Linked DNA regions of Homo sapiens: region 2 is linked to region 1. The links are contacts of gene promoters, found by promoter capture Hi-C in blood cells and fetal thymus (Javierre and others, 2016). All regions are on one chromosome and are shown on one strand. The core of a region is centred on a gene start or on the middle of the fragment in contact, and the rest is flanking DNA. Distances in the headings are between cores, read along the strand shown. Region 1 holds the start of APOC4 (apolipoprotein C4). Region 2 overlaps PVR (PVR cell adhesion molecule).

Region 1 (7,749 bases), core at 1,182-3,681:
CGCTCCCGGTGGCCCAGGGGCAGCCCCCTGCCAGTCCTCTTGCCTCCTGCCTTTACCCTTATGTGTCCCCTGACCGCTAACCCCTCTTTAACCATCAGCCATCTCTTTTTTTTTTTCTTTTTTCTTTTTTTTTATGAGACAGAGTCAGTCTCTTGCTCTGTTGCCCAGGGTGGAGTGCAGTGTCATGATCTCGTCTCATTGCAACCTCCACCTCCTGGATTCAGGCAATTTTCCTGCCTCAGCCTCCCGAGTAGCAGGGATTACAGGCATCTGCCATCATGCCCGGCTAATTTTTGTATTTTTAGAAGAGATGGGGTTTTGCCATGTTGGGGCCTCGAACTCCTGACCTCAAGTGATCCACCCACCTCGGGCTCCCAAAATGCTGGGATTACAGATGTGAGCCACCCCGTCCGGCTGGGCCATCTCTTCACCTTGTGTCAGTAGTCCCTCCTGTCACCCTGTCTGCCTGTGGTTCCCCTCTAATGGCCTCTCTAATTGCCATCCTCTGATGCCTCCCTTCACCACCTGATTTTGCTGCCCAGGAACTACCCCCTTCTCCCTTCGTTCTCCTGTGACCCCCACCCTGTCTGAGCTACCTCTGTGGACAGTGGAGGGAGAGCAGGAGGTGACTTTCTGCCCCCAGGGGCAGACATTGGCTTAGCCTTGCTGTCAGTTCCTCTTTCCGGGCCAGACCTTCTACCCACGCATCTGGACAAAGCCTCGCCTACAGAGACCAGCCGTCACGCGGGGGCCACATGTAGCTAGCTGTGTGCCTTGGCCGGTGACTTATCCTGTCTCCCCAGGACTGTTTCTCCTTTTGTAGAACGGGGTAATAATATCTACCTCAGGGTTATCGTGAGAATTAAGAGTTACTACATACGATGCACATGGAATGGTGCCTTGCACATTGTCTACATACGTGTTAAATTTTTTTTTTTTTTCAGACGGAGTCTCGCTCTGTCACCCAGGTTGGAATGCAGTGGCGCGATCTCGGCTCACTGCAACCTCTGCCTCCCGGGTTCAAGTGATTCTCCGGCCTCAGCCTCCCGAGTAGCTGGGACTACAGGCGCATGCCACCATGCATGGCTAATTTTTTGTATTTTTAGTAGAGATGGGTTTTTACCCATCTGTTAGCCAGGATGATCTCAAATCTCCTGACCTTGCGATCCACCCGCCTCGGCCTCCGAAAGTGCTGGGATTACAGGCATGAGCCACCGTGCCTGGCCCTGTATTAAAAATTTAAATTTCTACTGGATAATGCTGATCTAGAATATGATCCCATTTTAACATAAAGTACATGGCCGGGCGTGGTGGCTCATGCCTGTAATCCCAGCACTTTGGGAGGCCAAGGCGGGCGGATCACCTGAGGTCAGGATTTCAAGACCAGCCTGGGCAACATGGCAAAACCCTGTCTCTACCAAAAATATAAAAAAATTAGCCAGGCATTGGCCAGGCGCAGTGGCTCACGCCTATAATCCTAGCACTTTGGAAGGCCGAGGCAGGCGGATCACGAGGTCAGGATATGGAGACCATCCTGGCTAACACGGCGAAACCCCGTCTCTAGTAAAAATACAAAAAATTAGCCAGGCGTGGTGGTGGGCTCCTGTAGTCCCAGCTACTCGGGAGGCTGAGGCAGGAGAATGGCGTGAACCCGGGAGGCGGACGTTGCAGTGAGCCAAGATCACGCCACTGCACTCCAGCCTGGGTAACAGAGCGAGACTCCGTCTCAAAAAAAAAAAATTAGCCAGGCATGGTGGCGTGTGTCTGTAGTCCCAAATACTCTGAAGACTGAGGCAGGAGAATCCCTTGAAACGGGTAGGCGGATGATGCAGTGAGCCAAGATCGCACCACTGCTACCACTGCACTCCAGCCTGGGTGACAGAGTGAGACTCCGTCTCAAAAAAAAAAAAAAAAATGCATATGCAAAACACAGACGTACACACCAGCACACACTCACCCCCTCACACATGTCCACACACTCAAATATTTTGCACACACATACCCCACAGAGAGACAGGTGCACACAAATACACATATGCACACAGACATGCACTTTTTTACCACGACTGCATACTCCCACTTCCACGCACGCACGTGCACACACACAGATGATCCCAGTTTGTACCAATGTGACATTCACACTTCACTCTCAGCCACCGACACACACACTCCCCGACACGCACATGCATACGCACGCCATGAAACGCACACACTCCGTACTCATGTCTCACGTGGCTACAGAGCCACAGGACACACAGCCACACTCACACCCACCAGGTGTGGGCCCCACATCCCTCCACCCACTTCTTCTCACCCCCAATGCAGGCCAGGACCAGCACGCAGAGGCACAGGGCAGGCAGGGCCTGGAGCCTGTTTCTGAGGAGGGACATTTCTGGGGGTTCCGTGCCTCTGTCCCTCTGTGCTCAACTCTGCGGGCCGGGGGAGGGGAGGCTGCACAGAGCAGGGCCCTCCCCCGGCCACCTCCCCGCTTGGCAGAGACTTCAGAGAGCAGGGCCCAGGTGACAGTGGCAATCAGAGGTCATGCCTCTGTGGGCCTCCCTCCTTCTCACCCTCCCACACAGTGCCCTGAGAGAAGACAGAGGCTCTTGAGCCTCCTGCACTGAGGCAGGTTCAAATCCTGTCTCCACCTCCCATGACAGCCTCATTTGCTGGCCTCAGTTTCCTCCTCCATAAAGTGGGAGGCACAGTACATATTTCAGTATATTACTTGAACAAATACAAAGAAAGGCGCAGTGGCTCACGCCTGTAATCCCAGCACTTTGGGAGGCCGAGGTGGGCAGATCATATGAGGCCAGGAGTTTGAGACCAACCTGGCCAACATGGTGAAAAACCCTGTCCCTACTAAAAATACAAAAATTAGCCAGAAGTAGTGATGCGTGCCTGTAATCCCAGCTACTTGGGAGGCTGAGGCAGGAGAATGGCTTGAACCCGGGAAGTGAAGGCTGCAGTGAGCCGCGATCACACCACTGCACTCCAGCCTGGGTGACAGAGCAAGACTCTGTCTTGAAACAAAACAAAACAAAAAATGAAGAAAGCTCTTACCGTGGAGACTGGCAATATAGGTGCTCAAAGATCATTGCTGTTGGCCAGGCGCGGTGGCTCATGCCTGTAACCCCAACACTTTGGGAGGCCGAGGCAGGCGGATCACGAGGTCAGGAGATTGAGACCATCTTGGCTAACACGGTGAAACCCCATCTCTACTAAAAATATGAAAAATTAGCCAGGCGTGGTGGCAGGCGCCTGTAGTCCTAGCTACTCGGGAGGCTGAGGCAGGAGAATGGCGTGAACCTGGGAGGTGGAGCTTGCATTGAGCCGAGATCGCGCCACTGCAGTCCAGCCTGGGCGAAAGAGCAAGACTCCGTCTCAGAAAAAAAAAAAAGATCATTGCTGTTATTATTATCTTGTGTCTAATTTCTCCTAGTCACTGGGCTGCAGGGCCAGGCTTGTGGTAGGGCCTCAATAGGGCCCAAGGGTTGATGAGAGGAAATAGCAACACAGTCTCATGTCTCCAGCCTCTGTTTCTTCCTAGGTGGGCTCGAGCCCGATCACTTCCAAGCATTCCTTGAGTTCTCAATTCCAACTCTTTCTCCTCTGGGTGACTCTGGCTTCAGATGGACCTGGGCTTCGAATCCCTCACTTCTTCACCGTGTGACCTGGGCAAATACGTTTTCTTTTCTGGGGCTCAGTTTGTTCAACTGTAACACGGGGTTGATAGGGAGCACCTGCCTCCCAGTGTCCTCATGCAGGACGGCTGAGGCCTATGCAGGAGAGCTGCAGGTGCACATAGTAGGAGGTCATCAACATCAGGCCCAGGGCCAGGGCGGTGGCTCCCACCTGTAATCCCAGCACTTTGGGAGGCCGAGGCAGGCGGCTCACTTGAGGTCAGGAGTTCAAGACCAGCCTGGCCAACGTAGTGAAACCCCGTCTCTACTAAAAATACAAAAATTAGCCGGGTGTGGTGGAGCGAGACCTTGTCTCAAAAACAATAACAACAACAAAAACCAACAAAAAACCCACATCAGGCTCGGTCCCAGTGCCAGAAATAGAGCATTTTTCTCCTGAAGGACCCAGCTGCACCCCAGGGCACATGGCTCAGGGGACTATGGACTGGATTCTTTTTTTTTTTTTTGAGACAGAGTCTGGCTCTGTCGCCCAGGCTGGAGTGCTGTGGCGCGATCTCGGCTCACTGCAAGCTCCGCCTCCCAGGTTCACGCCATTCTCCTGCCTCAGCCTCCCGAGTAGCTGGGACTACAGGCACCCGCCACCACGCCCAGCTAATTTTTTGTATTTTTAGTAGAGACGGGGTTTCACCGTGTTAGCCAGGATGGTCTCGATCTCCTGACCTCGTGATCCGCCCGCCTCGGCCTCCCAAAGTGCTGGGATTACAGGCTTGAGCCACTGCGCCTGGCCTGGACTGGATTCTTTTGTCTACGCTTGCCAGACGAAATAGAGGAGGCCCAATTACATTTGAATTTCAAATCAACAGTGCATGACGTTTTAGTATAAATATGTCCCATGAAATATTTCAGAATTATACCAAAAAGTTTTTTTTGCTATTAATCTGAAATTCAAATGTAACTGAGCATCCTGTATTTTTACATGGCAAATCTGCAAACGCAACCTTGGCCACAACCTGAACAACTGTGCAGGACTGTCTTGACCCAGATGTCTGCCTTGGCAGAATCCTGTCCATCCCAGAGGCCCCAGCGTGAGCACAGTAGGTGCGCAACAGATGTCCCCTGGAATTCCTCTGTAGCAATCATCAGCAGATTGAAAACACCCAGAGTTTCTGTTTGGGATGACGAAGACATCCTGCAAATAGTGGGGATGGTTGCACAACAGTGTGAATGTACTTAATGCCACTGAACTGTACACCTAAAAATGGCTGCAATGGTTAAGTTTTTTTTTTTTTTTTTTTTTTTTTGAGGCAGAGTCTCACTCCGTCACCCAGGATAGAGTGCAATGGTGTGATCTTGGCTCACTGCAACCTCTGCCTCCCGGGTTCCAGCGATTCTCCTGCTTCAGCCTCCCGCGTAGCTGGGATTACAGGTGTGCGGCAACCACACCCGGCTAATTTTTTGTATGTATGTATGTATTTGAGACATAGTTTCGCTCTTGTTGCCCAGGCTGGAGTGCAATGGTGCGATCTTGACTCACTGCAACCTCCGCCTCCCGGGTTCAAGCGATTCTCCGGCCTCAGCCTCCTTAGTAGCTGGAATTATAAGCGCCTGCCACCATGCCCAGCTAATTTTTTGTATTTTTAGTAGAGACGGGGTTTCACAATGTTGGCCAGGTTGGTCTTGAACTCCTGACCTCAGGTGATCCACCTGCCTTGGCCTCTCAAAGTGCTGGGATTACAGGCGTGAGCCACCATGGCTGGCTCATTTTTTTGTATTTTTAAAGAGACAGGTTTTCACCATGTTGGCCAGGGTGGTCTCAAACTCCTGACCTCTCAGGTGATCCATCCACCTCAGCCTCCCAAAGTGCTGGGATTGCAGGCATGAGCCACTGCGCCTGGCTGCCCAGCTAATATTTTTATTTTTTGTAGAAACACAGTTTTGCCAAGTTGCCCAGACTGGTCTTGAACTCCTGGGTTCAAGTAATCCTCCCACCTCAACCTCCCAGAGTGTTGAGATTACAGGCGTGAGCCACCACACCCGGCCATGTTGTTTATATTTTACCACAATTATAAAAAAACAAAAACAGCCAGGTACTGTGGCAGGGGCTTGTAGCCCCAGCTACTCAGAAAGCTGTGGTAGAAGGATTCCTTGAGCCCAGGAGTTTGAGAGTCCAGCCTGGGCAACATAGTAAGACCCCGTCTCTTAAAAAAAAAAAAAAAAAGCTGGGCACGGTGGCTCACGCCTGTAATCCCATCACTTTGGGAGGCCAAGGCGGGCGGATCACGAGGTCAGGAGTTCGAGACCAGCCTGACCAACATGGTGAAACCCCCGTCTCTACTAAAAATACCAAAAAAAAAAAAAAAGTTAGCTGGGCATCGTGGTGGGCACCTGTAATCTCAGCTACTCAGGAGGCTGAGGCAGGAGAATTGCTTGAACCTGGAAGGTGGAGGTTGCAGTGAGCCGAGATCGCGCCACTGCACTCCAGCCTGGGCGACAGTGCGAGACTCAGTCTCAAAAAAAAAAAAAAAAACAGGCCGGGCGCGGTGGCTCACGCCTGTAATCCCAGCACTTTGGGAGGCCGAGGCGGGCGGATCACGAGGTCAGGAGATCGAGACCATCCCGGCTAAAACGGTGAAACCCCGTCTCTACTAAAAATACAAAAAAATTAGCCGGTCATAGTGGCGGGCGCCTGTAGTCCCAGCTACTTGGGAGGCTGAGGCAGGAGAATGGCGTGAACCCGGGAGGCGGAGCTTGCAGTGAGCCGAGATCCCGCCACTGCACTCCAGCCTGGGCGACAAAGCGAGACTCCGTCTCAAAAAAAAAAAAAAAAAACAACAAAAAACAAGGGCCAGCATGGTGGCTCGTGCCTGTAATCCCTGGTGGCAGGATCACCTGAGCCCAGGAGTTAAGACACTAATCTGGGCAACATAGGGAGACCTCATCTCTACTAAAAATAAAAAAAAAAAATTTAGCTAGGCGTGGTGGCATGCCCCTGTAGTCCCAGCTACTCAGGAGGCCGAGGTGGGAGGATTGTTTGAGTCTAGGAGTTCAGGGCTACAGTGAGCTATGATTGTACCATTGCATTACAGCCTGGGTGACGCTGTCTCCACAACAAACAAAAGCCCAAAATAAAAAACAAAAACAAACCTACTGTGTGTTGTGTTATGATTGGTGTGGGGTTCAGAGCCTGACTCTACCTGTTGCTTCTTTTCCTTTCTTTCCTTCCCTCCCTCCCTTCTTTGTTTTTTGAGATGGAGTCTTGCTCTATTGCCCATGTTGGAGTGCAGTGGCGCGATCTCGGCTCACTGCAACCTCCATCTCCTGGGTTCAAGCAATTCTCCTACCTGAGCCTCCCGAGTAGCTGGGACTACAGGCGCCTGCCACCACACCCAGCTAATTTTTGCATTTTTAGTATAGACAGGGTTTCACCACGTTGGCCAGGCTGGTCTTGAACTCCTGACCTCAGGCAATCCACACGCCTTGGCCTCCCAAAGTGCTGGGATTACAGGTGTAAGCCACTGCTCCTGGCCTGTTTTTTTTTCTTTTTGAGATGGAGTCTTGCTCAGTCACCCAGGCTGGAGTGCAGTGACGTGATCTCAGCTCACTGCAACCTCTGTCTCCCGGGTTCAAGCAATTCTTCTGCCTCAGCCTCCTGAGTAGCTGGGATTACAGGCGTCCGCCACCACGCCCAGCTAATTTTTGTATTTTTAGTAGAGACGGGGTTTCACCATGTTGGCCAGGCTGGTTACGAACCCCTGACCTCAAGTGATCATCCCGCCTCAGCCTCCGAAAGTGCTGGGATTATAGGCATGAGCCACCGCGCGTGGCTGACTCTACATCTTTCTAGCGGTATGACCTGGTACAAGTTGCTTTACCTGTGTGGGCCTGTTTCTTCATCCATGAATGGGAGTCATGGACTATCTACCTCATAGGGTTGCCAGGGAGAGTAAAGATCGTGCACAGAAAATGCCGCATAGGTGCCCCGTCAACGCCAGCTACTGTTTAATTCGTGCGCGCTTCCCCAGCACACACTGTGTGGCAGGAACCATGGCAGGGCTTTTAGATGATTACTTTACTTAATTGCGGTGGGGCATGGTGGCTCATGCCT
Region 2 (7,749 bases), core at 5,045-7,544, 290 kb after region 1:
TAGACAGGGAACCCTGCCTCGACCTCTTCCTTTGGTCCCTGTTCTTCCCACCCAGGGAGTTCCTCACCTTTGACCTGGACGGTCAGTTCTGCCTGGCGAGCTCCTAGGGCATTGGTGACGTTGCAGATTAAAGTTGTGTTGATTGGTTTGTCCACAGGACGGATCAGGAGCTGGGCGCCCTGGGCCACAGCAAAGGGTGGCAGGGGACCCATGGTCCTGGGAGAGACAGAAAGGTGAGGAGGTGGCCTCTGCTGCAGGTCCGGAGTGACAGTGATTGAGCACGCACTACGTGCCCAGAAACCCTCACGCCCTCTATAGCATAAGCGGAGAGCAACTCTGGAGGCCCCCCAACTCTTCCCTTCCTCTCATGCCCACACCCAACCCATTAGCCAATCATGTCGGCCCCGCCTTAAGATCCATCCAGAATCCCACCTCTCCTCAGGGCTTCCACGGTACCTCCCTGCTCTGGCGCTGTGCATCCCGGCCCCCAGCAGCCGCCTCCACGCTGGGCTCCGTTTCTGCCCTCGCCCCCTCGTCTGTTCCCCACATGGCCACCAGAGGTCGCCTGTGAACCCTAAGTCAGTTCCCATACCTCAGCTCAGTACCCTCTGGGGGCCTAGCCTGGCTCAGAGTTAAACCGAAGTCTTCTGGTGTCACAGGCCCCACGTGATCTGGCCCCTGCTACCTCTGCCCACGTTTTCCATTACTCTCCCCTTTGCTCCCGCCTCTGCATCCACAGTGGCCTCTTTGTTGGTCCTCAAACTCTCCAGTTAGGTGTCCAGGGTGTTTGCTTATGCAGGGACTGATGGATAGAAATGGGTTTGCCCATGCTGTTCCCTCTGCTGGAATGCTTTCCCCCTAGGCACCCGCAGAGCTCACCCTCATCTCCTTCAGGCCTCTGCTGGGATGTCACCTTAGTAACACCTCACTTGGCCACCCTATTTCAACTGTGATGATCACCCTTCCCATCCCCTTCTCTTTAATTTATTTAATTATTATTTTTTTGAGACAGCGTCTCACTCTGTCACCCAGGCTGGAGTGCAGTGGCACCATCTTGACTCACTGCAACCTCCACCTCCTGGGTGCATGGAATCTTCCCACCTCAGCCTCCTGAGTAGCTGGGACTACAGGTGCATGCCACCACACCCGGCCAATTTTTGTATCTTTTTTGGTAGAGATGGGGTTTCGCCATGTTGGCCAGGCTGGTCTTGAACTCCTAGCCTCAAGTGATCCTCCCATCTCTGCCTCCCAAAGTGCTGGGATTACAGGTATGAGTCATGGCGCCCAGTCCCATTCCCTTCTCTGCTTTGTCTTCTCCATGGTATTTATCACCATTGCACACACACTACACACTTTATCTTGCTTCTTGTTTCTTTCACCACTAGAATGGAAGCTCTATATGGGGAGGAAATTTGGTCTGTTTTATCGACCAACGTATGTTGGTTAATTGCACCCGGCACACAGTAAGTAGTCAAGGAACACTGGTTTAATGAACAGAGGTGGAGGAGATGGAAGCATCAGGCTTTGGGTGCTCCGCAGAGCTGGGATGCAAACGCAGCTATCTGGCTCAAGAGCCTGAATTGCGGTGCTTTGAGGCAGGACAGTAAAGGCACCATCACACCAGTTGAAAACCTTTGACCGGCAATTCCTTCCACGGACAACTGCTGACAAGTGACCAGTGGGGATGGACACCACCATGGCATTTGCAGAGTTGAAAATGGAAAATGACATCTGTGTCCTCTACTAGGGACTGGTTAAATAACTGATGACATCCACATATGTTGGAATCCCTTCCCTGCCCTTTGGGAGGCCCAGGTGAGATGACTGCTTGAGTACAGGAGTTCAAGACCAGCCTGGGCAACATAGTGAGATCCTGTCTCTATTCTTTGAATTTTTTTTTTAAAGTGGTGGAATCCCAGCAACACTAAAAAAGGGGCCAGGTTAGCCAGGCGTGGTGGTGTGTGCCTGTAGTCCCAGCTATCTGGGAGGCTGAAGCTGGAGGATCGCTTGAGCCCAGGAATTCAAGGCTGCAGTGAGCTGTGATTGTGCCACGGCACTACAGCCTGAGCAACAGAGTGAGGCCCTGCCTCAAAAAAAAAAAAAAAAAAAAAAAAGCAGGAGAGCTGGGGGTGCTCTGAAATGCATAATATGATTGATGGATGAATAGAGGGACTGAAGGAATCACAGAAACGTGATAAAGCAAGCACAGTAAAATGTTAGCAGGGGAATCCACGTGGTGGAATCTTAAGTGTTCACTGGAAAATTCCTATGATTTTTCTGTATGTTTGACAGTCTTCCTAATACAACGTGGGGGAAAATGGAGTTGTGGATCTATGTGCTTTGACATGGAAAGGTATTCACAAGACAGACGAAAAGGTTCAAAATTATATGTACAGCATAATTCCAGTCTTTGTTTAGAAACAGAGAGAAAAAAGACAGGATGTATAATAAGGGGTCACTGGGTATTTCTGGAGGTGGCTGGGTACACTTGAACTATAGGCACTACTTTCTTCTTTTTGCTCATAACTAAATTGTTTGATATTTCTACAGTGGACACAAGTTATTTTTGTAATAAGGAAAAAGACCTAAGGCTGGGCGAGGTGGCTCACGCCTGTAATCCCAGCACTTTAGGAGGCTGAGGTGGGTTGATTGCTTGAGCCCAGGAGTTGCAGACCAGCCTGGGCAATGTGGCAAAACCCTGTCTCTGCAAAAAAAATACAACAAAATTAGCTGAGTGTGGTGGCGTGTGCCTGTAGTCCCAGCTACTCAGGAGGCTGAGGTGGGAGGATCACCTGAGCCCAGGGAGGTCCAGGCTGCAGTGAGCTATGATCACGCCACTGCACTCCAGCCTCGGCAACAGAGCCCCTTCTTTAAAAAAAAAGGGCGGTTCAGTAAAATTATGTAATTTATGTAAAATTATGTATTATAAAATTATGTATTATCTCTTTGCCTTTTTCTTACCTTGCTCTTGATCTCAGCCTCAGTGTGAATCTGGGGAAATCTTATTGCTGTGAGCCTCAACTTTCTCATCTAGACAATGGGGATATATAGTACTTGCTCCATCCAGAGATAACCAAGTAGGTTACACAAGGTGACGGTGAGGTGGTTACAGTCTAGAGTGGGGGTGTCCAATCTTTTGGCTTCCCCGGGCCACATTGGAAGAAGAAGAACTGTCCTGGGCCATACATAAAATACACTAACACTAACAATAGCTAATGAGCTAAAAAAATTCGCAAAAAAAAAGTCTCATAATGTTTTAAGAAAGTTTACAAATGATGTGGCCTGCAGGTTAGACAAGCTTGGCCAAGAGGCGGAGGACCAGCTTTGGAGCCGAGCGCTGATTCAAGGGCCGCTTCTGCCCTCTCGTGGCTGGTCTTTAACCTGGGCAGGGCAACAGCTGCTGACTGTGCACAGCATGGGGTCACATGGGATTCGGGGGAAGTACCGGGCACAGAGCAGGCACACCCCAAAAAGCAGGTGCATCCACCAGCCAGGATTCAACCACCTGCTAAACGCCTCAACCGCAAAACAGAGATGTCAAAACAGAGATGCCCCCCACTGGGGGCCCGAAGTCAACCTCCTCTTTTTCTCTTTTCTGAATCTCCCTCCTCTCTTAGACCAGGAGTCCAGGCCCCAGTCTGTCCTGCCTCAGACCCAGGGGTCCAGGCTCCCAGCTTCTCCTCCCTCAGACCCAGGGGTCCAGACCCCCCAGCCCCTCCTCCCTCAGACCCAGGGGTCCAGGCCCAGCCCCTCCTCTCTCAGTCCCAGGGGTCCAGACCCCCAGCCCCTCTTCCCTCAGACCCAGGAGTCCGGGCTCCCAGCCTCTCGTCCCTCAGACCCAGGGGTCCGGGCCCCCAGCCCCTTCTCCCTCAGTCCCAGGAGTCCAGGCCCCCAGCCCCTCCTCCCTCAGTGCTAGAAATCCAGACCCCCAGCCCCTCCTCCCTGAGACCCAGGACTCACGTGCTCCAATTATAGCCTGTGGGCTCTGGGTTGCTGCGAGCATCGCAGGTCAGGGTGGCCTCATTCTGGCCAAGGTACCAGTTGTTATCATAGCCAGAGATGGATACCTCTGGGGGGTCTGCAGGAAATGGATACAGAGGTTCAGAGACTGGGAGGCTTTGGGGGGCCTGGGGCTACGCGGGATTCACGACACTGCAGGAAAAGGCCCGGGGATATTTGGAAAACAGCGGGAGCTGGAGAGGCCTAGGAGGAGTCTAGGTAGATGGGGTGCCACAGAGAGCAGAAGCCTAGGAGTCCTTGGTCAGTGGGGACATGGAGAAGGCTTCTGAGGAGCTGCTTTTCTCCACTAGCTTTCCTGGGTAGCCTGGACCAGGCATGTCTTGGGTGTCCTGCAGGAAAATGCCTCCTCCTTTTCTCACTCATAGGCAATGACCACTCACAACACACAGCAGTGTATTCAAGGTTCTGACAAGTCCTGCAGGAAAGAGTCCCAGATAACCCTGCTCTAGGCTGCTGCTCAGCCATCCCATACGTGATTGACAGCGAAGACCTTTCAATGTCCTTGGGGGCAGGCCAATGGGACAGGGTTTTATTCGGGGGCGAGGGGTAGGAGTCAGTGTAGATCTCCTCCTCGCTCAGACCCAGTGACAGTGTTGAGGGACTCCAGTATAGACAGTACCTGAGGGAATCTGTGTACCAATTGCCTGGCGGGGAGTAAGCAGTATAGACAATGGTGGGAGGAACAGTATGAATGATGTCTAGAAGAGCTTGTGTGGATATTACTGATGGGTTCAGTGTAGACAGGGTGTTGGAATATTACAGCAGATGCTATATTGTCGGGCCAGTGTTGAAAATGTGGTGGTGGGGGTGAGATCACCCCCACATATACAGTGTGTCCCCGGGAGCTGACGAAATTAAGACAGGCTCTGTGTATGTGTGTAGACAGTATTTGGATGAGCCAGTGTAGATGATGTGGGAGCTTAGTCTAGATCTGTGCTGTCCAATATGGCACCTACTGGCCACATGTGACTACTGAGCACTCGAAATATAGCCAGGCCGAAATACACACCAGATTTCAAAGGCTTTACTAGGACAAAATAAATGGGAAAGATCTCAAGAATAATTTTAAAAAAACAATTACAAGTTGAAATAATATTTTAGGTATATTGGGTTAAGTAAAGGCAATTATTAAAAATTAATTTTGGCCAGGCACAGTGGCTCATGCCTGTAATCCCAGTACCTTGGGAGGTTGAGGCAGGAGGATCACTTGAGCCCAGGAGTTTGAGACCAGCCTGGGCAACATAGGGAGATCCTGTCTCCAGAAAAAATAAAAATAGGCCGGGTGCGGTGGCTCACGTCTGTAATCCCAGCAATTTGGGAGGCCAAGGTGGGTGGATCACGAGGTCAGGAGTTTGAGACCAGCCTGGCCAACATGGTGAAATCCCGTCTCTACCACAAATACAAAAATTAGCTGGGCACTGTGGCCAGGGCTTGTAATCCCAGCTACTCGGGAGGCTGAGGCAGGAGAATCACTTGAACCCGAGAGGCGGAGGCTGCAGTGAGTTGAGATCGTGCCACTGCACTCTAGCCTGGGTGACAGAGCAAGACTTCATCACAAAACAAAAAAACAAAAACAAAAACAAAAACAAAAATTAGCTAGGCATGGTGTCACACGCCTGTAGTCCCAGCTACTCAGGAGACTGAGGCTGAGGTGGGAGGATCACTTAAGCCCAGGAGGTTGAGGCTGCAGGGAGCTGTGCCACTGCACTCCAGTCTGGGTGACAGAGTAAGACCCCGTCTCAAATAAATAAATAGATAAATAAATAAACAAATAAATTTCATCTCTTTCTTTTCTTGTTTTTGAGATGGAGTTTTGCTCTGCTGCCCAGGCTGGAGTGCAATGGCGTAATCTCGCTCATTGCAATCTCCGCCTCCCAGGTTCAAGTGATTCTCCTGCCTCAGTCTCCCGAGTAGCTGGGATTACAGGCACCCGCCACCGTGCCTGGCTAATTTTTGTATTTTTTAGTGAAGACAGAGTTTCACCACATTGATCAGGCTGGTCTTGAATGCCTGACCTCAGGTGATCCACCTGCCTCGGCCTCCCAAAGTGCTGGGATTACAGGCGTGAGCCACCGTGCCTGGCCTCTTTCTTTTAATTTTTTAATGGGGTGGCCGCTGGAGAATTTAAAATCCTATATGCAGCTTGCATGCTATTTCTGTTAGACAGCACTGGTTAGAGAGTCCTGGGGCTGTCAGTGGAGATAAATGTGTGGGTGTCAATGTCGATGATGCCATGAGGGAGCTGGTGGAGGTAACGCTGTGCAGGAGAATCAGGACAGATGCTGTCAGGGGGCTGTGCAGACAGAACACAAGGAGGCCAGTGTGGTGATGTGGGGTGAGACTGGATAGCCTGTAGATGAGCCAGTGTAGACAATATTGGGCAGAGGAACATGGAGACTACACTGGGGGACTCTGCAGACACTGCTTAGGGGAGCCAGCACAAACAATGTGAGAAGATCAATGCAACTAGCACCCGGCGGAGACAGTTGATCGTGGCTCAGGGGAACTGGTCGATACAATGTGGGAGGTGAATGCAGACAGTTCTCCAGGGAGTCAGTGTAGACAGTGTCAGGGGGCACTTTAGAGAGTGCCTAGGAGAACCAGTGTAGAAAAAGTGGGGTGTTTACATAGACAGTGGTCATAGGAGCCAGTGTAGACACTATGGGAGACAGTGAAAACACCCCACAGCTGGTGGCCAAAATAGGTGGTGTAGACAATGGGGTTAGTGCTGTCTGTGGCCCAGGAGAGCCAGTGTAGACAATGGTAAGGCAGTGTAGAAAATGGACAAGGGGCCAGGTGCAGTGGCTCACGCCTGTAATCTCAGCACTTCGGGAGACTGAGGCGGGAGGATCACTTAAGCCTAGGAGTTTGAGACCAGCCTGGGCAACACAGCAAAACTCTCTCTAGAAAAAAACTGTAAAATTAGCCGGGCATGGTGGCTGCACCTGTAGTCCCAGTTACTTGGGAGGCTGAGGGAGAAGGATTGCTTGAGCCTGGAAGGGTGAGGCTGTAGGAACCATGATCATGCCCCTACACTCCAGCCTGGGTGACAGAGCGAGACCCTGTCCAAAGGAAAAACAAAACAAAACAAAAAGCCGGGCACAGTGGCTCATGCCTATAATTCCAGCATACTTTGGGAGGCTGAGGCAGGCCGATCACCTGAGGTCAGGAGTTCGAAACCAGCCTGGCCAACATGATGAAACCCTGTCTCTACTAAAAATACAAAAATTAGCCAGGTGTGGTGGTGTGCACCTTTAATCCCAGCTATTTGGGAGGCTGAGGTAGGAGAACCACCTGAATTTGGGAGGCAGAGGTTACAGTGAGCCGAGAACATGCCACTGTACTGCAGCCTGGGTAACAGAGTGAGACTCTATTTCAAAAAAAAAAAAAAAAAAAGGAAAGAAAGAAAAGGACAAGGGAGTGGGTGTAGACAATAAGGGAGGCAGTGTTGATCGTGGCCAGAAGAACCAGTGTAGCAATGTGGGGAGGGTCATTGTGGATACTTGCCTGGGGAAATGGGTGTAGGCAGTTTAGGGGCAGTGTAGACTGTGCTCAAGGGAGTCAACAGAGTGTCAGGTATCCGTGCAGACAGCCGCTAGAGGAGCCAGGGCAGACAGTCTGGGTACCAGCATTGACTATGGCCCAAGTAAACTGGTGTAGACAATAGGGACAGTGTTGTTTACGGCCCAGGGGAGCTGGTGCAGACAATGGGGGTGGGTCGTGTAGACA

The links. Contacts are between HindIII fragments. The CHiCAGO score rates a contact against its expected background, and 5 or more counts as called.
Region 2: a fragment that was not itself captured here is called in contact with the fragment with the promoter of APOC4 in region 1 in 2 of 17 cell types (total B cells and naive B cells); the score reaches 5.7 in total B cells.

The regions. Positions count from the first base shown.
Region 1 is chr19:44,936,919-44,944,667 of GRCh38, reverse strand. APOC4 (apolipoprotein C4) reads right to left here and starts at 2,431. Exons shown (of 3, transcript NM_001646.3): 1 at 2,315-2,431. The coding sequence starts at 2,390. APOC4-APOC2 (APOC4-APOC2 readthrough (NMD candidate)) reads right to left here and starts at 2,430. Exons shown (of 6, transcript NR_037932.1): 1 at 2,315-2,430. The HindIII fragment of the contact is 22,942 bases long and covers 1-7,749 here.
Region 2 is chr19:44,650,229-44,657,977 of GRCh38, reverse strand. It overlaps PVR (PVR cell adhesion molecule), which reads right to left. Exons shown (of 8, transcript NM_006505.5): 4 at 3,961-4,078; 5 at 68-216. MIR4531 (microRNA 4531) reads left to right here and starts at 4,246; the gene lies at 4,246-4,292. RefSeq lists a silencer at 1,240-1,440 and an enhancer at 3,216-3,275. The HindIII fragment of the contact is 5,987 bases long and covers 3,301-7,749 here.